Linked DNA regions of Homo sapiens: region 2 is linked to region 1. The links are contacts of gene promoters, found by promoter capture Hi-C in blood cells and fetal thymus (Javierre and others, 2016). All regions are on one chromosome and are shown on one strand. The core of a region is centred on a gene start or on the middle of the fragment in contact, and the rest is flanking DNA. Distances in the headings are between cores, read along the strand shown. Region 1 holds the start of CC2D1B (coiled-coil and C2 domain containing 1B). Region 2 has its middle 42 kb from the start of BTF3L4.

Evidence for each region. Contacts are between HindIII fragments. The CHiCAGO score rates a contact against its expected background, and 5 or more counts as called.
Region 2: a contact is called between a fragment that was not itself captured here and the fragment with the promoter of CC2D1B in region 1, in 1 of 17 cell types (endothelial precursors). The highest score is 5.1, in endothelial precursors.

What each region holds. Positions count from the first base shown.
Region 1 is chr1:52,364,831-52,368,369 of GRCh38, forward strand. CC2D1B (coiled-coil and C2 domain containing 1B) reads right to left here and starts at 1,375. Exons shown (of 25, transcript NM_001330585.2): 1 at 1,239-1,375. RefSeq lists silencers at 975-1,084, 1,125-1,754. The HindIII fragment of the contact is 5,331 bases long and covers 1-1,971 here.
Region 2 is chr1:52,096,873-52,100,411 of GRCh38, forward strand. No RefSeq gene overlaps it. Among named protein-coding and RNA genes, the nearest start is that of BTF3L4, 42 kb to the left of the region's middle. The HindIII fragment of the contact is 1,024 bases long and covers 1,475-2,498 here.

The DNA.
Region 1 (3,539 bases), core at 125-2,624:
TGAGGAATGTTCTGAACGGACTCAAATTTAAAAAGCACATTCAGGGAAGTACTCTAGGTTCAGGGTGGGTGGAAGGCTGGGTAGAATTCAGAAAGGCTCTAAAGCTGTGCTTATGGAAGCCACAGCTGGCTATTTAATTTTAAATTTCAATGAATTAAAATGAAATAAAGCTAAAAATCCAGTCCATCAGCCACAACAGACACATTCCAAGTGCTTAACAGCCATATGTGGTGAGGGGCTATGACCAGACAGCACACACACAGAACATTTTCATCATCCAAGGACATGTCATCAAAGTTCCATCTCACAGCTGAGCTCTGGAGAAAGCTGGCTCAGCATTCTGATTCCCATAAAGATCTCACAGTTATTCACAGGACCTCCTGTGTCAGACCTTGCGCTGGGCACTGGGAGCGCAGAAATGAACCTAAGACGGTCTCAGCCTTCAATGACCATTTACAGGGTGGAGGTGGACTACACGGGGTTGCCCCAGGGGCCATGGGTGCCCTGAGGTGACCCCTTCTTCAGCCCTGGGAGAAAAGGCTCCTCCTTCGAGGCGGTGACGCCTGAGCTGAGTCACGCAAAGAAGTTGGGGGAAAGAGGGAAATAGGATTCCAAGACGAGGGAACACTTGACGGCTCTGAAGTGGGGAGCAGCTTGGCCTGTACAATGGAACCTGAGGCCTGGTATGACTGGGGCATAAGCGGTGAGGCCTGAATGCACAAGCCGAGGTGGAAATGTGAGCAAGCGGCAGAATATGAAAACCTCTAAGCCGAAAAGCGTTTGGGCATTATTCTGAGGGCGCTGGGAAAGAAGTGGCGGGATCGTATCGGTGTTTCAGAAACCCCATTCTGGCACCAAAGGGGAGGTGCACAGAAGGTAGGGGGAAAAGGCAGGAAGCCGGCGCATCTCGCCACAGCGCTGGCGGGGAGACCAGCTGACGGGCGTGGAGGCGGCGGGGAGCGGGCGGAGGAGCTGGCGGGCGCTCCGGGGGACTCTGAGTGTCAGATTTCGGGAGTGACTCCGGCTCAGGTGAAAGCGAGGCCAGACACTCCAAGGCTGCGGCCCCGATGACACAGCCAGGCCTCACGGAAGGTGGGCAACGGAGTCCGTAGGGGGAGGCGACACGGGACCCCCACTCCCGCGCTGCGGGACGCGCCGCCCTGCCCCGCCCGCGCCGCCTCCATCTACCCCCGCGGTCCCCAGAACTCCCCACGCCGAGGGGCGGGGACGCGGCATACCTCGCGGTGAATCCGAGCCAAACCCCGGCCTTGTCTCACCCGGCACCGCCCTGGGCTCCCGCGGGCCCTGGGCCGCAGCGGTAGCGACAGGAAGCGCCAGCAGGGGAGGTGGCTCGCGCGCAACACGTGACCCCACTGGCCGGCGGCCGGCAGTGCGCATGTGCACGGCTACGCGGGCGGGGGGCTCCAACAGGTGACACCGGGGCGGGGTTCGCAGCGCGCAGGCGCGTTCGGGTAGGTAGCGCAGGACAGGAACTCTGGGCGGTTCCGCCGGGGCGTCCACCGGCCGGCTCCAATGAGGTCGCTGCGCCCAGCCCTCGCCCACTTGCAGCCTCTCCACCGAACCTCCTCCCTCACTCAGCCCGAGGCGCTGGGCGCTCGCTCGCTCGCTGGACCTACCCCGCCTCCAGCCCTCGCCCCGCCCCACCGAGCAAGAGGGCGGGGCCTACCCAAGCTCCGCCCTGGAAGAGAGACAGGGGCGGGGCTCACCTGCTTGTCCATGTCCTTTAAGCCTGGGGAAATGGAAATGGGGCCCACCATATGTTTCTTAATAATTCAGCACCTGAAAGTATCCTTTTCCGGTCCGTTGAAAACTTCAGACAGGCAGAGCTCGCTGCACATCTTAAATACTTTACAGAGTCTAACACTAAGTTCTCACTCGCCTACCCTGCTGTGCAATCAAATGGCATGGAGGATATTAAGGAGAGAAACGGAGTATACCCGTTTTCTGCCAAGCTTGTGTCAGTCACTTTTCATAATGGAGCTTATACCAGTTCTCAATCCTGCAAGATGGACATCATCTCTAGAAGAAACGGAGGCTCAGAGAGAATTATTTGCCCAGGGAAATACAAAACCAACCTCTTTAGCATCAGTAAATATGCTCTAGTCTAGTTTTCTAAGGAAAGCACGTTTCTCCCTGCGGCTTGCAGAGTCCAGTTAACAAGAGATTGAGCTCAGGAGTCCGAGACCAGCCTGGGCAACATGGCGAAACCCTGTCTCTACAAAAAATTACAAATATTAGCCGGGTGTGGTGGTGCGTGCCTGTAGTCCTACCTACTGAGAGGCCGAGGCAGGAGAATCGCTGTGGCCCCGGAGGTCCAAGCTGCAATGAGCTGTCAACTGCACTCCAACCCGGGTGACAAGGTGAGACCCTGTCTCAAACTAAAACAAACAAAAAAACCGAGAGCGGAGTAATGGGGAAGTGGCCAGATTCCCATCTAAAGTAACCACTTCGATTTTGGGGGGAAAGAGAACGGCTTAAAAGGAAAATTTGATATGGGAAGCATGCAAGAATTGTACAGAGTACAACGTCTGTGTGTCTTGTTCTGGTGGCTATCTTGGGTCCCAGCCTACCTGGAGCGTGGGCTGGTCTCATCTCCACAATGGCCCCGCTGTTGACTAGCCACCTTGAAGTAATCTTTGGAATTTTGCAGCTGTGTCTCCAGGCTTGGTTTGTCTGTCTCAAGATTAGCCCTTGGAACTTCTCAGAAGGCAGATAATTAAATACTAGCATACAGTAAGATAAATGTGAAGGGAGTATATACAGTGAGAAAGGGAGGGATATGGGGTCTATTTTACAGCTAAGGGAAAAGGCTTTTGCAGTTTGCTTCAAGGTTGTATCTTGAAACCCAAGAGAAAGGAAAAAAAGTTTTAAAATGTATTTTAAAGTTAAACTGCTGGATTAGTTTCTTCTGTCTAAAACATTGCCATCTCCTCTCCTGCCTATGCCTTGAACTTTTAAATTATGTTTTCTAGTTAGCGATCTCCCAGTTTACTTGGACAAAGGGCTTTTCCATCTCCTGATTGCTTACTTTTTTTCTTTTTTTTTTTTTTGAGACAGGATCTCATTCTGTCACCCAGGCTAGAGTGCAGTGGTGCGATCTCCACTCACTGCAACCTGCACCTCCCAGGCTCAAGCAATCCTCTCACCTCAGCCTCTTGAGTAGCTGGGACCACAGGCACGTGCCACCATGCCCAGCATTTTTTTTTTTTTTTTTGTAGAAACATGTTTTTGCTATGTGCCCAGGCTGATCTCAAACTCCTGAGCTCAGGGGATCAACCCACATCAGCCTCCCAAAGTGCTGGGATTACAGGCGTGAGCCACCATGCCCTGCCCATTACCATATTTAAATTGAGATTTCACATCCATATTTCTCATTCCTTTTAAAATTATTTAAAAATTTTTATAATGAAACATTTAAGATATAAACAAAGATACACAATATTTAACATTTACTAGAATGCAAGCTCCAGAAGGAGAAATTTTTTTATTGCTTCTCCAAGTGTCTCGTGTCTACAGCA
Region 2 (3,539 bases), core at 737-3,236, 270 kb before region 1:
TCTCTCTAAAAAAAAAAATTAGAAAAGCACCCCATATTTACAAATCAAGTATCTGATAAGGGATTAATATTCAGAACATATAAAGAATGTCTACAACTCAATATAAAAAGAACCCAATTAAAAAGTGGTCAAAAAGGCAGGGCATCATGGCTCAGGCCTATTATCCCAGCAACTTTGGGAGGCTGAAGTAGGAGGATCCCTTGAGCTGAGGAGTTCAAGACCAACCTGGGCAATATAGTGAAACCTTGTCTCTACAAAAAAATTAAAAATTAGCCAGGTGTGGTGGCACACACCTGTGGTCTCAGCTACTTGGAGGGTTGAGATGGGAGGATTGCTTGATACCAGGTGGCAGAGGTTGCAGTGAGCCATGGTCAGACCACTGTACTCCAGCCTAGGTAACAGAGCAAAACCCTGTCTCAAAAAAGGAGTAAAAACAAAATACAAAAAAAAAGTGGGCAAAAGACTTAAATAGACATTTCTCCAAAGATATACAGATAGCAGGCACATGAAAAGATACTCAGCATCACTAATCATTAGGGAAATGCAAATGAAAACCACAATGAGCTAGCACACCTAATAGATGTGAACCTATTAGGGTGGTTATTATAAAAAATAAGTGTCAGGATGTGGAGAAATTGGGATCCTTGTACATTGCTGGTGGGAATGTAAAATGGTACAACCACTGTGGAAGACAATGTGGAGGGTCCTCAAAAAATTAAATGTAGAATTACCATATGATCCAACAATTCTACCTCTAGGTATATATCCAAAGGAATTGAAAGCAGGGACTCAAACATATTTGTACACCAATGTTCATAGCAGCATTATTCACAACAGTAACTCAAGTGCCCATTGATGGATGGATGGATGGATAAACAAAATATGGTATGTACATGCAACAGAATATTTTTCAGCCTTTAAAAGGAAGGAAATTTTGACACATGCTACAACAGGGATGAACCTTTAAAACATTATGCTAAGTGAAATAAGCGAGACATAAAAGAACAAATGTTATATGATTCCACTTATATGAGGTACCTTAGAATAGTGGTCCCCAACGTTTTTGGCACCAGGAACTGGTTTCATGGAAGACAATTTTTTCCACAAACCAGTTGGGGGCATACTGGGGGATGGTTTTGGGAAGGTTCAAGTGCATTACATTTATTGTGTACTTTATTATTATTACATTGTAGTATGTAATGAAATAATTACACAACTCACCATAATGTATAATCAGTGGGAGCCCTGAGCTTGTTTTCCTGCAACTAGACTGCCCCATCTGGGGGTCATATGAGACAGTGACCCATTATCAGGCATTAGATTTGCATAAGGAGCCCACAACCTAGATTCCTCGCATGTGCAGTTCGCAACAGGGTTCACGCTTCTATGAGAATCTAATGCTGCTACTGATCTGACAGGAGGCGGAGCTCAGGCAGTAATGCAAACAATGGGGAGCAGCTGTAAATAAAGACGAAGCTTTGTTCACTCACTCTCTATTCACCTCCTGCTGTGCAGTCTGGTTCCTAACAGGTCACTGATCAATATGGGTCATGGCCTGGGGGTTGGCGACTCCTGCCTTAGCATGATCAAATTCATAGAGACAGAAAGAATTACTATGGGGTAGAAAGGGAGTGCAGAATGGAGAGTTATTGTGTAGTGAGTACAGAGTTTGAGTTTGGAATGGATGAAAAAGTTGTGGAGATGGATAGTCATGATGTTTGCACAACAATATGAATGTATTTAATGCTACTGAATTGTGTACTCAAAATTGGTTAAAATGACAAACTATGTATATCGTGTGTGTGTGTGTATGTGTGTGTGTGTGTGTGTGTGTGTGTGTGTGTGTTTTCTAGACAGGGTCTTGTTCTATCACCCAGGCTGGAGTGCAGTGGTTTGTTCTTGGCTTGCTGCAACCTCCGCTTCCTGAACTCAAGCAATCCTCCTGCTACAGCCTTCCAAGTAGCTAGGACTACAGGTGTGTACCACCATGCCCAGCTAATTTTTGTACTTTTTTTTTGGTAGAGACAGGGTTTCGCCATGTTGCCCAGGTTGGTCTTGAACTCCTGGACTCAAGAAATCTGCCTGCCTTGGCCACCCAAAGTGTTGGCATTACAGGCATGAGCCACTATACTGGGTCAACTTTATGAATATTTTACTATAACAACAAAAAAAAACCTGTGAAATGCCTCTAGGAACCCCATGTGGAAGAGATCAGCCAACTGTAGGTAAGTCTAACCGATCAAAAACATTATGGATACAGTTTACCTCAGCAATAAGTCATTCCCAAGACCACAGTGCTGAGAAACTTTGAGTTGGTACTCTGAGGAGTCAGAGATGAGTTGGCACTAATCCCTACCTCCACAGTATTACAGTTGTTAGAAAATAGCATACACTCAAAAAATAAAAGGTCATACCAAGGACCAGGTCAGTGCTACAGACTCTTTTTAAGTGTCACAGAAGAAAAGGATCTTCATCCCATCTTTATGTTTGCTAGAGCAAGCTTGTTATCACAGTGTATTTAGCCCAACTCACACCCATTCTAATATTGTTTTACATCCACATATCCTTCTTAAGAAGCCTAGACAGCCATGTTTACAGAGCGTGACTCCACACCAGTAATAGATGCTCAGACCGAGGGCAAAACAGTGACCCAAGAACCAATCCATAGACTAACAGCTGAGCCAATCCATTTATTTCTAAGGATTCTGTACTAAGACTGAATCAGATGCTAATGGACCCTTGGACTGAACGATCCTGTAGGATGGAGCTAGAACACTCACACTGGGCCAGGTACAAGCAGTGGAAGCTATAAGAATGAAGCCGAAATAATAGACAACCCTAAAAAGAGAACAGTCTCAGAAAATGATTTCACAATTTCTGTCCTATGATGCCTGGCTGTCCTTTTTCTGTCCCTGGGTTGCTAACTTGTCAGTGAGATTTTTGTGTTCTTAAAAACACCTCCCTCTGCCACCATCATTCCGTTTAAGCCAGCTTGAGAGACTGTTCCTTGCCACCAAATGATCTTAGAGCAAGGGCATTTGAAGCCGGGCATGATGGCTCACACCTGTAATCCCAGCACTTTGGGAGGCCGAGGTGGGCAGATCACTTGATGGCAGGAGTTCGAGACCAGCCTGGCCAACATGGTGAAACCCCGTCTCTACTAAAAATACAAAAATTAGCCAGGCGTGGTGGCATGCGCCTGTAATTCCAGCTACTCTGGAGGCTGAGGCATGAGAATCACTTAAACTCAGGAGGCAGAGGTTAAGAAAAATTAAGAAAAAAAAATTAAAACTGTTAAATGGAAATGTCACAGGGACCATCCTTCTGGCATTCTTTTTTTTTTTTTTTTTTTGGAGACAGAGTCTCTCTCTGTTACCCAGGCTAGAGTGTAATGGTGTGACCGCGGTTCACTGCAGCTTCCGCCTCCCGGGTTCAAGCCATTCTCCTGCCTCAGCCTCCCTAATAGCTGGGACTCAGGCACACGCTGCCACACCTGGCTAATTTTTTGTATTTTTTAGTGGAGACGGGGTTTTATCATG